Linked DNA regions of Homo sapiens: regions 2 and 3 are each linked to region 1. The links are contacts of gene promoters, found by promoter capture Hi-C in blood cells and fetal thymus (Javierre and others, 2016). All regions are on one chromosome and are shown on one strand. Each heading gives the region's core, a stretch centred on a gene start or on the middle of the fragment in contact. The rest is flanking DNA. Distances are from core to core; before and after follow the strand shown.

The links. Contacts are between HindIII fragments. The CHiCAGO score rates a contact against its expected background, and 5 or more counts as called.
Region 2: a fragment that was not itself captured here is called in contact with the fragment with the promoter of MERTK in region 1 in 2 of 17 cell types (endothelial precursors and megakaryocytes); the score reaches 7.5 in endothelial precursors.
Region 3: a contact is called between a fragment that was not itself captured here and the fragment with the promoter of MERTK in region 1, in 1 of 17 cell types (M2 macrophages). The highest score is 5.2, in M2 macrophages.

What each region holds. Positions count from the first base shown.
Region 1 is chr2:111,897,357-111,900,408 of GRCh38, forward strand. MERTK (MER proto-oncogene, tyrosine kinase) reads left to right here and starts at 1,251. Exons shown (of 19, transcript NM_006343.3): 1 at 1,251-1,440. The coding sequence starts at 1,380. RefSeq lists an enhancer at 390-719. The HindIII fragment of the contact is 4,607 bases long and covers 1-3,052 here.
Region 2 is chr2:112,103,756-112,106,807 of GRCh38, forward strand. It overlaps TMEM87B (transmembrane protein 87B), which reads left to right. Exons shown (of 19, transcript NM_032824.3): 16 at 2,247-2,320. Among named protein-coding and RNA genes, the nearest start is that of FBLN7, 33 kb to the right of the region's middle. The HindIII fragment of the contact is 2,318 bases long and covers 361-2,678 here.
Region 3 is chr2:112,087,071-112,090,122 of GRCh38, forward strand. It overlaps TMEM87B (transmembrane protein 87B), which reads left to right. Exons shown (of 19, transcript NM_032824.3): 10 at 2,555-2,648. Among named protein-coding and RNA genes, the nearest start is that of TMEM87B, 33 kb to the left of the region's middle. RefSeq lists an enhancer at 301-390. The HindIII fragment of the contact is 4,356 bases long and covers 1-3,052 here.

The DNA.
Region 1 (3,052 bases), core at 1-2,500:
TTGCTGTCGGTGTAAGTAATAACCTGTCTAAACCCATCTGGGCTGCCTGTCTCCTTCCCGTAGCCAAATCTACGGGAAGTGTCCAGCCAGTGTAGGGGTCAAGGGACCGCTTGACGAGACCAACGTAAATTGAAGAGGCGTAAGGAGATGAGGCCAAAGAGGAAAGGGGACCAGGTCACGTAGAACCTCGTAGACCACTGCAGAACCTTGGCTTACGTACGCAGAGACAGCAGGAACCACTGATAGGTTTAGGGAGATTTGAGGAGAGGGACATGATTTGGCTTATGTTATGTTGTTAAAGGGACCACATTAAAATACATTCATTCTAAAAGTGTTACCTTTAAGAAACTACGTATATAAATTAAGTTACTGTTGCCATTATTAGCGTAAGTAGTTACATTTCTCTTACGACTCACTCTCTGCTACTGCCTCTTGGACCCTGCACACCTTGTGGAGGCCCATGAGAGTGACGTGCTGTGGTTCCCCCTCTCCCCACTCCTGCTCTGCACTTTGTCATTCACGTTCATCTCCCTCCTTGAGTGTCACCTCTCTCTGGCTCGTCACGGAGCCACGGCAAAGCGTCCTTTCCCAGGAACCCCTCCCCCTGGGGAGGTGAGCTCCTCGCCGCCAGGGCCGTGTCGCGCACCTCGGGCCGGGTACCCAGGCGGCGCTCGGCGGCGAGCGGAATGGATGTGGAGGAGCGCTCGGCAGGGAGCGCTGCCGCCCTGGCCTTGGCCTCTGGGAGCGGCGCGGCCAGGGTTTTCTGTGTCAGCCAAGCCCGGAATGCGGGGGCGCCTCTGGACCCTCCTCTTGGGTCTGGGGGCTGCCTCGGGCATCCTCTACTCCTCTCCCACCTTCTGTCCTTCCCCATCTCCCACCCACACGTGTGGGGCCCCGGACCCGCGCAGCGGCCAGAGCCTTCCGCTGTGGACCTCCAGTCCACCCCTCCCCTTCACTTCTCTTTCCGGCTCCCTCCGGGTCTCTCAGCCCCCTCCCCTTCCTCTCCGCCCCCTTCCCCGCCGTCTGCCCAGCGGCGGCCTTCGGCCCGCCCCTTCTCTCCAACCCCCTCCCTTTCCCCTTTACGCCCCTCCTCCCCCTCGTCCTCCCGCCCCCTCCCACCCCAACCTGCTGGGCCCGCCGGGACTCGCCCCCCTGCCCGCTCCTCTCCTCCAGCCCCGGCCGGCCTCGGCTCGGCCCCCGGCCCGCCCCTTCCAGCCCTCGGCACCTCCCGCCGGCCGCTTGGCTCCGCCACTCGGCACTCACTGCCCGGGCCGCCCGGACAGGGAGCTTCGCTGGCGCGCTTGGCCGGCGACAGGACAGGTTCGGGACGTCCATCTGTCCATCCGTCCGGAGAGAAATTACAGATCCGCAGCCCCGGGATGGGGCCGGCCCCGCTGCCGCTGCTGCTGGGCCTCTTCCTCCCCGCGCTCTGGCGTAGAGGTGAGTGCGCCCGGCTGGGGGCCAGGCGAGGGGGTGGGGGCTCCCAGGAGGAAGCAGGGGCCTCTGGGGAGGGAGCGCGTCCACAGGGGCGCGCCTGGCTGCTGGACAAGTTTGCAAACACCCTCCACCCACTGCGGTGCCAGAGGAGGGGGCGTAGGCGAACCTACCGTCCACTGACCGCGGCGCCTCAAGCGTCCCGAGGGCACCCAGCCTGGCTTGCGGGTGCGCATCGTGGTGAAGCCGGGTCGGGGTCGGCGTTGCAGGCTCCCCTCTTCACCGCAGAGGAGGAAATCGAGCTCGGCCGGGCGCGCTGCAAGTCCTGAAGTTCCGACGAGTGGAACGTAGGTAGCAGGTCTGGTCTGGGATGCGACGAGAACTTTCCACTAGAGTTGCATGGTGGGGCCCCGCTCTGGCCGGAGTCCCGGGGGCCACAGATCCGGTCTCCCGAGGGACCGGCGCGGGGCGAACGAACGGGCTGCGGGAGTCGGAGCCGCAGTCCGGGAGCCGCGATAGACTGAGGCCGAGCGACGGGCCAGGGGGGGACGGCAGTCCTGGCTGCTCCCAATGGGCCCTTACGGGCATTATTAGTATCCCTTTTTAGGGGCACCCAGAGAGTGTGGGAAAAGGGGAGCGTTCTTTTCACTCCTGTTATGGCAGAACAGAACTTACAGTGCTCGGCAGCGTTTACGTTTATCTGGATTCAGCGAAGTGTTGTTACAGGCTTTTTTTTTTTTAATTTGAGACCGAGTCTCGCCCTGTCGCCCAGGCTGGAGTGCCGCGGCGCGATCTCGGCTCACTGCAGGCTCCGCCTCCCGGGTTCAAGCGATTCTCCTGCCTCAGCCTCCCGAGTAGCTGAGACTATAGACGCGCGCTACCACGTCCGGCTAATTTTTGTATTTTTAGTAGAGACGGGGTTTCACCATGTTGGCCAGGATGGTCTCGATCTCTTGACCTCGTGATCTGCTCTCCTTGGCCTCCCAAAGTTCTGGGATTACAGTCGTGAGCCACCGCGCCCGGCTTGTTCCAGGCATTTTAATACAAGATGCTGGACTGATACGTGGAGGCAAGGAAGGCCGGTTTCATTCTGCTTGAACAGCTTATTTGGGGAGTGAGTGATGAACAGATTTCAAGTTTGATCGCTGATGCACTTCTTGAGGAGGCTGGAATAAACTTACCAGGCTTTACCCAAAAGAAAAAGAAAGGGGAAAAATGCTAAATAAACACATTCCAAGTATTTTCTCTCAGCTAAAAGGTTTCTATTTCCATTCAGCATGTAGATTTTCTCTCTTTTGATCGAGAATGCACTTGACTAGCCTTCACCTATTACAGTCAAAGATGTTTTTTAGGAATACCTGGAAAGCTCAGTTTATAGTCAAGTAAGTTACTTAAAAGTTTTTCCTTTGAGATTTTCCTTTGAAAGCTCATTTACTCAAATGAAAAATTCTTAAACAGTGCACCCACTTTTTGCACGTTAAATTACATAAGCAATTTATAATTTGGGGCAACATAGCAATTTGAAACAAACTTTAAGAGCCAGGCAAAGAACTAAAGCAGTTCTGTTCTCCACTGCCCCTCCCTCCACCAAACCTTCAAAAATTCCTCAGCATTTCTG
Region 2 (3,052 bases), core at 270-2,769, 210 kb after region 1:
ATATCTCAAAATCTAACTGTACTTCAATATGGTATGCGAATTATCTCTCAATAAAATAAAATTAGTGGATTTATACTGATTTCAAGACATAATTATTTCAGATTACAGCAATCCAGACAGTGTGGTATTGGCATAAGGATAGAGAAATCCATCAAGGTAGTAAAATAGAGTCCAGGAATAAACCCATGCATGTGTGGTCAGTTGATTTTTGACAAAGGCACCAAGGCTTACATGAAGAGAGGATAGTCTTTTTAATAAATGGTACTGGAACAACTGGATAAATGTGTAGGAAAAAAAATCATTAGACTTTTGTTGCACATCTCACAATCAATTCAAGATGGATCACAGACCTAATGGAAAAGCTTCAACTGTTATTCTTCTAGAAGAAAAAAGGAAAATATTTTAATGACGTTGGATGGGGTAATTTCTTAGGACATGAAAAACAGTAACCATTAAATTAAAAAATGAGACTTTATCAAAATTTAAAATCTATGCTCATCAGGAAGAATTTAAGAAAATAAGAAGGCTAGCTACAGTGGGAGATAAAATATTCTCAGTACATATATATCTGACAAAGGGCTTATATCCAGAATATAAGTAGAATTCCTGTAAATCAATAAATGATAACCTATGTTGCAAAAAATGAGCAGAAGACTAGTGTAGACACTTCAAAGAAGACATAGGAATGGCCAATAAACCCGTTAAAAGGTGCTCAATATAATCAGTCATCAGGGAAATGCAAATTAAGACCATAATGAGCTGCCACCACACATCTGCTAGAATGGTTAAAATTAAAAAGTCTGATAGATAGCATGAACTATTGGAGAGGATGTGGAACAGCTGGCTCTCTCATACAGTACTTGAAGGAATGTAGAATAGCATGACCGCTTTAGAAAGCAATGTGACAGCTTCTTACAAAGTTAAGCATATACCTACCATACAGTTCAACTGTTCCACTCTAAGGTTTACCCAGAAAAATGAAGCAGATGTCTACAGAAACACAAGAATGTTTACAGCAGCTTTATTCTTAATAGTCCAAAACTGGAAGTAACACAATTATCTACAAACAGGTGAAAAGATAAATAAATTGCCATATATCCATACAATGGAATACTTTTCAGTAATAAAAAGTAACCAACACTCTATAACATAACTTAATCTCAAAAATGTTTATCTTGCATGAAAGTGTTGCATGATTTAGATGATTATCTAAATCAGAGCAGTGGTTGCTTTTGGTGAGGTGGGGATTGACCAGAAAGGAACTTAAAGAACCTTCTGTGATAATGGAAATGTTAACTGTATTGATTGGCATGGCAGTTACTCAAGTGTATATATTTGTCAGGTTTCTTCAGACTGTACACTTAAAATTTGTAATATATATATATATACACACACACACGCTTCAGTGTTCAAAAATCACTGTATTCCCCTTCTAAGAGAAATGTTGGGGTTTTGAATGTCCCAGGAAAACATTTTTGGATTGAGGAACCTCATTTTTATTTATTACATCAGCTTATGTTATAATTGTTCTAGTTTATGGAGAAGCAATATTTGCAAATTAGTGTAATAACAAAAGTGACTACTTACTGGGCATAGATTGTGTGTCAGGCATTTTATATGTGCTAACTTGTTCAATGGTCACTAGAACTCTATGAGGTAGAAATTATTATTATCCCCAGTTTATAGTCAGAAACACTAAGTCACAGGAAGTTAATTGCCTTGCCCAAGATTCCAGTGAGGCAGACACTTAGCCTTTGCTCCACTGAAACTGCAAACATGCAGAAGAGCCTTGGTCAAATATGAAAGAAATCTTGATCTTTCCTATCTTCTTTATGCCATACGCACATTTCAAAATTTGTACATCAGGGATGTAAAGCATACCCAAAGATGTGTTTTGTTCTTGAATGTACCATGAATCCTGAAGATTTTTAAATCCATAAACTTTAAAATAATTGCAATTAAGGAAATATGTATGCATGTATACTTGTTTAAACTCTAAAACTAGGATTCAAACAAGAAACTTGAAAACCTGGTGGTTCTGACAAATAGTTTCCAAAAATCTGTGAACTTTTTTCATATATTTTTCCTACATTCCCAAATGGTAAATCCAGCATCCTGCCTAAAGTTTCCATTATTAACCCTCCATTTCTAAAAAGATATAGTATTTTTTCTTATCAGATTATTAAATTTCTAAAGGAAAATATTATTTTGTGATTTTATATATATGTTTATAATGTCTCTCGTAGCCGAAGGAATAAAATTAAGAGCCTCAAAATCAGTTTCCAATGGAACAGCTAAGCCTGCCACTTCTGAGAACTTTGTGAGTATGGTATATATTTAGTACAATCTTAGTCTTCCTTAGTCTTCACTACTTTAGAGAGCTATACGAGTGTCATATTCATTGACTCTCAGAAGAACAGTTTTTACTAAGATTTTGTTGTTGTTGTTATAAAAATTAGTGTTGCCAAGTGCCAAGTAGCAATCCTGGTTGTCCATAACTGAAATACCTTCATTGTAGATCTCACTTCTCACCTGCTGTTCCTAGGCCAGCAGCATGAGCATCATCTGGGAACTTGTTAGAGATGCAGAGTCTCAGGCCTACCCCGGACGCTCCTGAATTGGAATCTGCTTTTTGAAAAGATTCCATAGCCTGTTCATCTGCACATTCGAGATGGGAAAGCTTTGTTCCAATAAAAGCTTGTGTTAACTTTTCAGCCTATGAAAGTGATTTTTGAAGCCATTTTAAAATAACATTTGTTATCTGTTGGTAAAGAACTTTATGTGTTACCTACACGGTTACCAAAATTAACAGATTTTTTTTTTTTTTGAGGTGGGAAGCTTGAATAAAATTGTAAAACATTGGGCAGAGATGAGCTAAAAAATATTTTCTGCATGTTATTTATGCATAAAAATGTTTTTGAAGACAACAATGTAAAATGGAAATGTCTATCATATAGTTTTATACTTTCCTTATAACTATATGTGCTGTGATTAATACTATGTAAAAATTTATGTATGCATATATAAGTTCTGACACGATAGATAATATGTG
Region 3 (3,052 bases), core at 277-2,776, 190 kb after region 1:
CTTCCGTTGTCCCTCCCCATCTTATATCCTTACCTTCTTCCTTTTGCTTGGATTCCCTGGTCCAGCAGGACATTGACACCCAAAGACCCCTGCCTTTCTCTTTGTCAACCTTCTTGACAAAACCCCAGCCTTGCTAAGTCCAGCTTTCCTTCTGCCTCAGGCTCCCACCCGAGCAGGGGAATTTGCCCAAAAAGAGCCCTGGACCACACTGAGGGGGCCTACTTGCCATTCATGACCCTAAACTTCACGTGCACCCTCAGTGCTGCTGGCAGTTGTACTCAATCCCCTTGCCACTATTTTCTCACTCTCCTGTCTGCAGAAGACCATTTTACCCCTTTCTCTCAGACTCTACCCTGACCTTCGGTTTTTTTTTCACTGAGGAAGTAGAAGCCATCAGAGGGGAATTCCACTGCATCTGTGCCCCCAGACCCTGTCATTTCCCCCACATCTGGACCGCATGAACCACTTTCCTCTTCTTGATAGTCACGGGCCACCCCTGCCTTTGTGCCCACTCAACTGTGAGGGAAACTGTCCTAGTGCTCGGTTTTGTTTTTTCTTGCATCGTCAGCTTTCCTCTCTGGTGGGTCACCCCCATCAGCATCTCGTTATTTCTACCATTTTTTAAAGTGAAGCCCTCCCTCCACCCCACATGGCCCTCTCCTCCACTTCTGCCTCATTCACCTTTCCCCTGTGCAGCATAACTTCTCACATGAGTAGTCTGTACCTCAGCCTCCCCAGTATTGCTCTATTGAGACTGCTCTTGTCAAGGCCACCATGACCTCACCTGCCATATCACATGGCCCTGCTCAGCCCTCGTCCAGTTGTCCCGTGAGCAGCTTTAAGGAGTGCCAGCTTTGCCTGGTTTCTGGGAGCTCGTCTTCCATCCTCTCACATCACTGGCTACTCCTCCCCAGCCTCCTCTGCTGCACCCTCCTGTGTTCCTGAGCTCCGGCCCCCGGGGGCCCAGGCTCAGGCCTCTGCTCTGTGACTCGCACCCCTAGGCTCTCCTCCTGTGTGCGTGCCCGTTTGCTTGTGAGCTGGGGATTGGGGAGTTAGCAGGATTTTATCCTGGAAGCCTTTATCCCCCTGGACTTTTATTGGAGATTCTTTCTCAAATGCCTTTTGTGTTCTTAGTACAGTGTAGGAAATGAAGGCCTCTTGTTGAGGAATCTTGCAGTACCTTTCACAGCTCTGGTTATGAACATCAGATACCAACAGGTGCAGTGTTGTTACTGTGAAAGGAATAGAAGATTAAATGAATGGGTACAGATACAAACCCTTTTTAAATGAATCCCTTCACTGTTAGCTTGCTCGGCTCAACTCATAAAGTGAGAGCAGTAACAGTTCTGGTTATTTGGAGGTTCTGGTTAGTTGATTATAATGAATCAGAATTTAGATTCCTTAGATTAGGTAAATAGTCTTAATTAAATATGAGCTATGACCACTAACTTAATTTTTTACTTATATTTTGTTTTGAATTGACTATCTTAAATATTTTTTTAAACCAGTTTTTTTCTTCTAATTACTCTGAGAGGAGGGTTTTTGAGCAGCCTTAAATGTATGTGCAATAAATTCTGATTTGCAAATATCATGAAATTATTCTATTTTAAATTATTAATTGCAAAAACCACCATCTTTGTATTTTCCCAACTCAATTATATTTTGAAAGAGCCAAAAAAAATTTTTTTTGTTGTTTTTGTTTTTTTGGAGACAAAAGTCTCACTCTCGCTCAGGCTAGAGTGCAGTGGTGCGATCTTGGCTCACTGCAACCTCTGCCTCCTAAGTTCAAGCGATTCTCGTGCCTCAACCTCCCAAGTAGCTGGCACTACAGGCACGAGCCACCACCCCCGGCTAATTGTTTGCTTTTTTTGGTAGAGACCGGGTTTCACCACGTTGGCCAGTTTGGTCTCGAACTCCTGAGCTCAAGTAATGTGCGTACCTTGGCCTCCCAAGATGCTAGGATTACAGGCATGAGCCACTGCGCCTCGCCCAAAAATGTTATTTTAACTCTTTCAGTTTAAAGAATGAAAATGAAATTCTGTTAGCACTCCTGTTCTGGTTAAGAGCTGGTGATCAGAAAGGAGGTCATGGACTTCCATCTCCTCATGTCCTGCTCTTCCTCTGCCCAAGTCATGAGACAAGTGAATTATCTCTGAAAAGACAGACCTCAGGAAGAATTAAGTTAGACTTCTCAGTGGCACTTAGAAGTTGGCATTTACCTTCCTAGATTTCATCAACCTACTCTTCCATTCTATAGAAACAGTACCTGAATTATATTCATTCTGTTGCTTGAATTTCAGCAGCAAAATCCTCTGGCACCTTTGTGGCCTCCAAATATTGCTTCAAAGGCATCAGTATAGCTTCAGGTCCTAGAGAAAGAGACCCTTTGTTCCTGGGCCTGTTTCCTAAAACAAAGTACCTCAGAGCCGGGAACAGACTGATGTGATTAGATAGTGACTTCCTGGTATTGGAAATGGTGCCAGTTACTGTATTCAGGTGCATTTTACTCACCCATGCTTTTTCTTCTTTCTCTGTTTCCTCTTCCTGATTCCAGGCCTCGTTTAGGAACAGTCATGCACCGGGTGATCGGACTGGGGCTTCTATACTTAATCTTTGCAGCTGTTGAAGGCGTGATGAGAGTCATTGGGGTAAAAACTACATTATTCTACCACCCCTTTTTGTTATTGCTGTGAAATGTGGTTTTACTTTGTATCTCCTGAGATGAATTTTTAGATAGAAACTTGTGAAAAAGGCCCAATTTGAACTTTTCTTCTATGGGATGTTTCCCTTTTAAAATACTTCCTGAAAGGCAAAGGCTAGACAGAGTGCTTCTTAAAATGATATGACTGATTGCGAAGGCACCGCTTGATATCATCCCAGGTATCAGTCCCATCCCAGAAAGGTTCATGGTTGTTCTTCATAGAGAACATTTGTCTTTATCATTATGCAGCTGGTATACCTTAATATCATTCTTAACCCTGGATTTTAAAATGTATCAAGTGAACAGAAAGTTAATTACACCCTTCAGGTATACATACAGTACATTCCATCA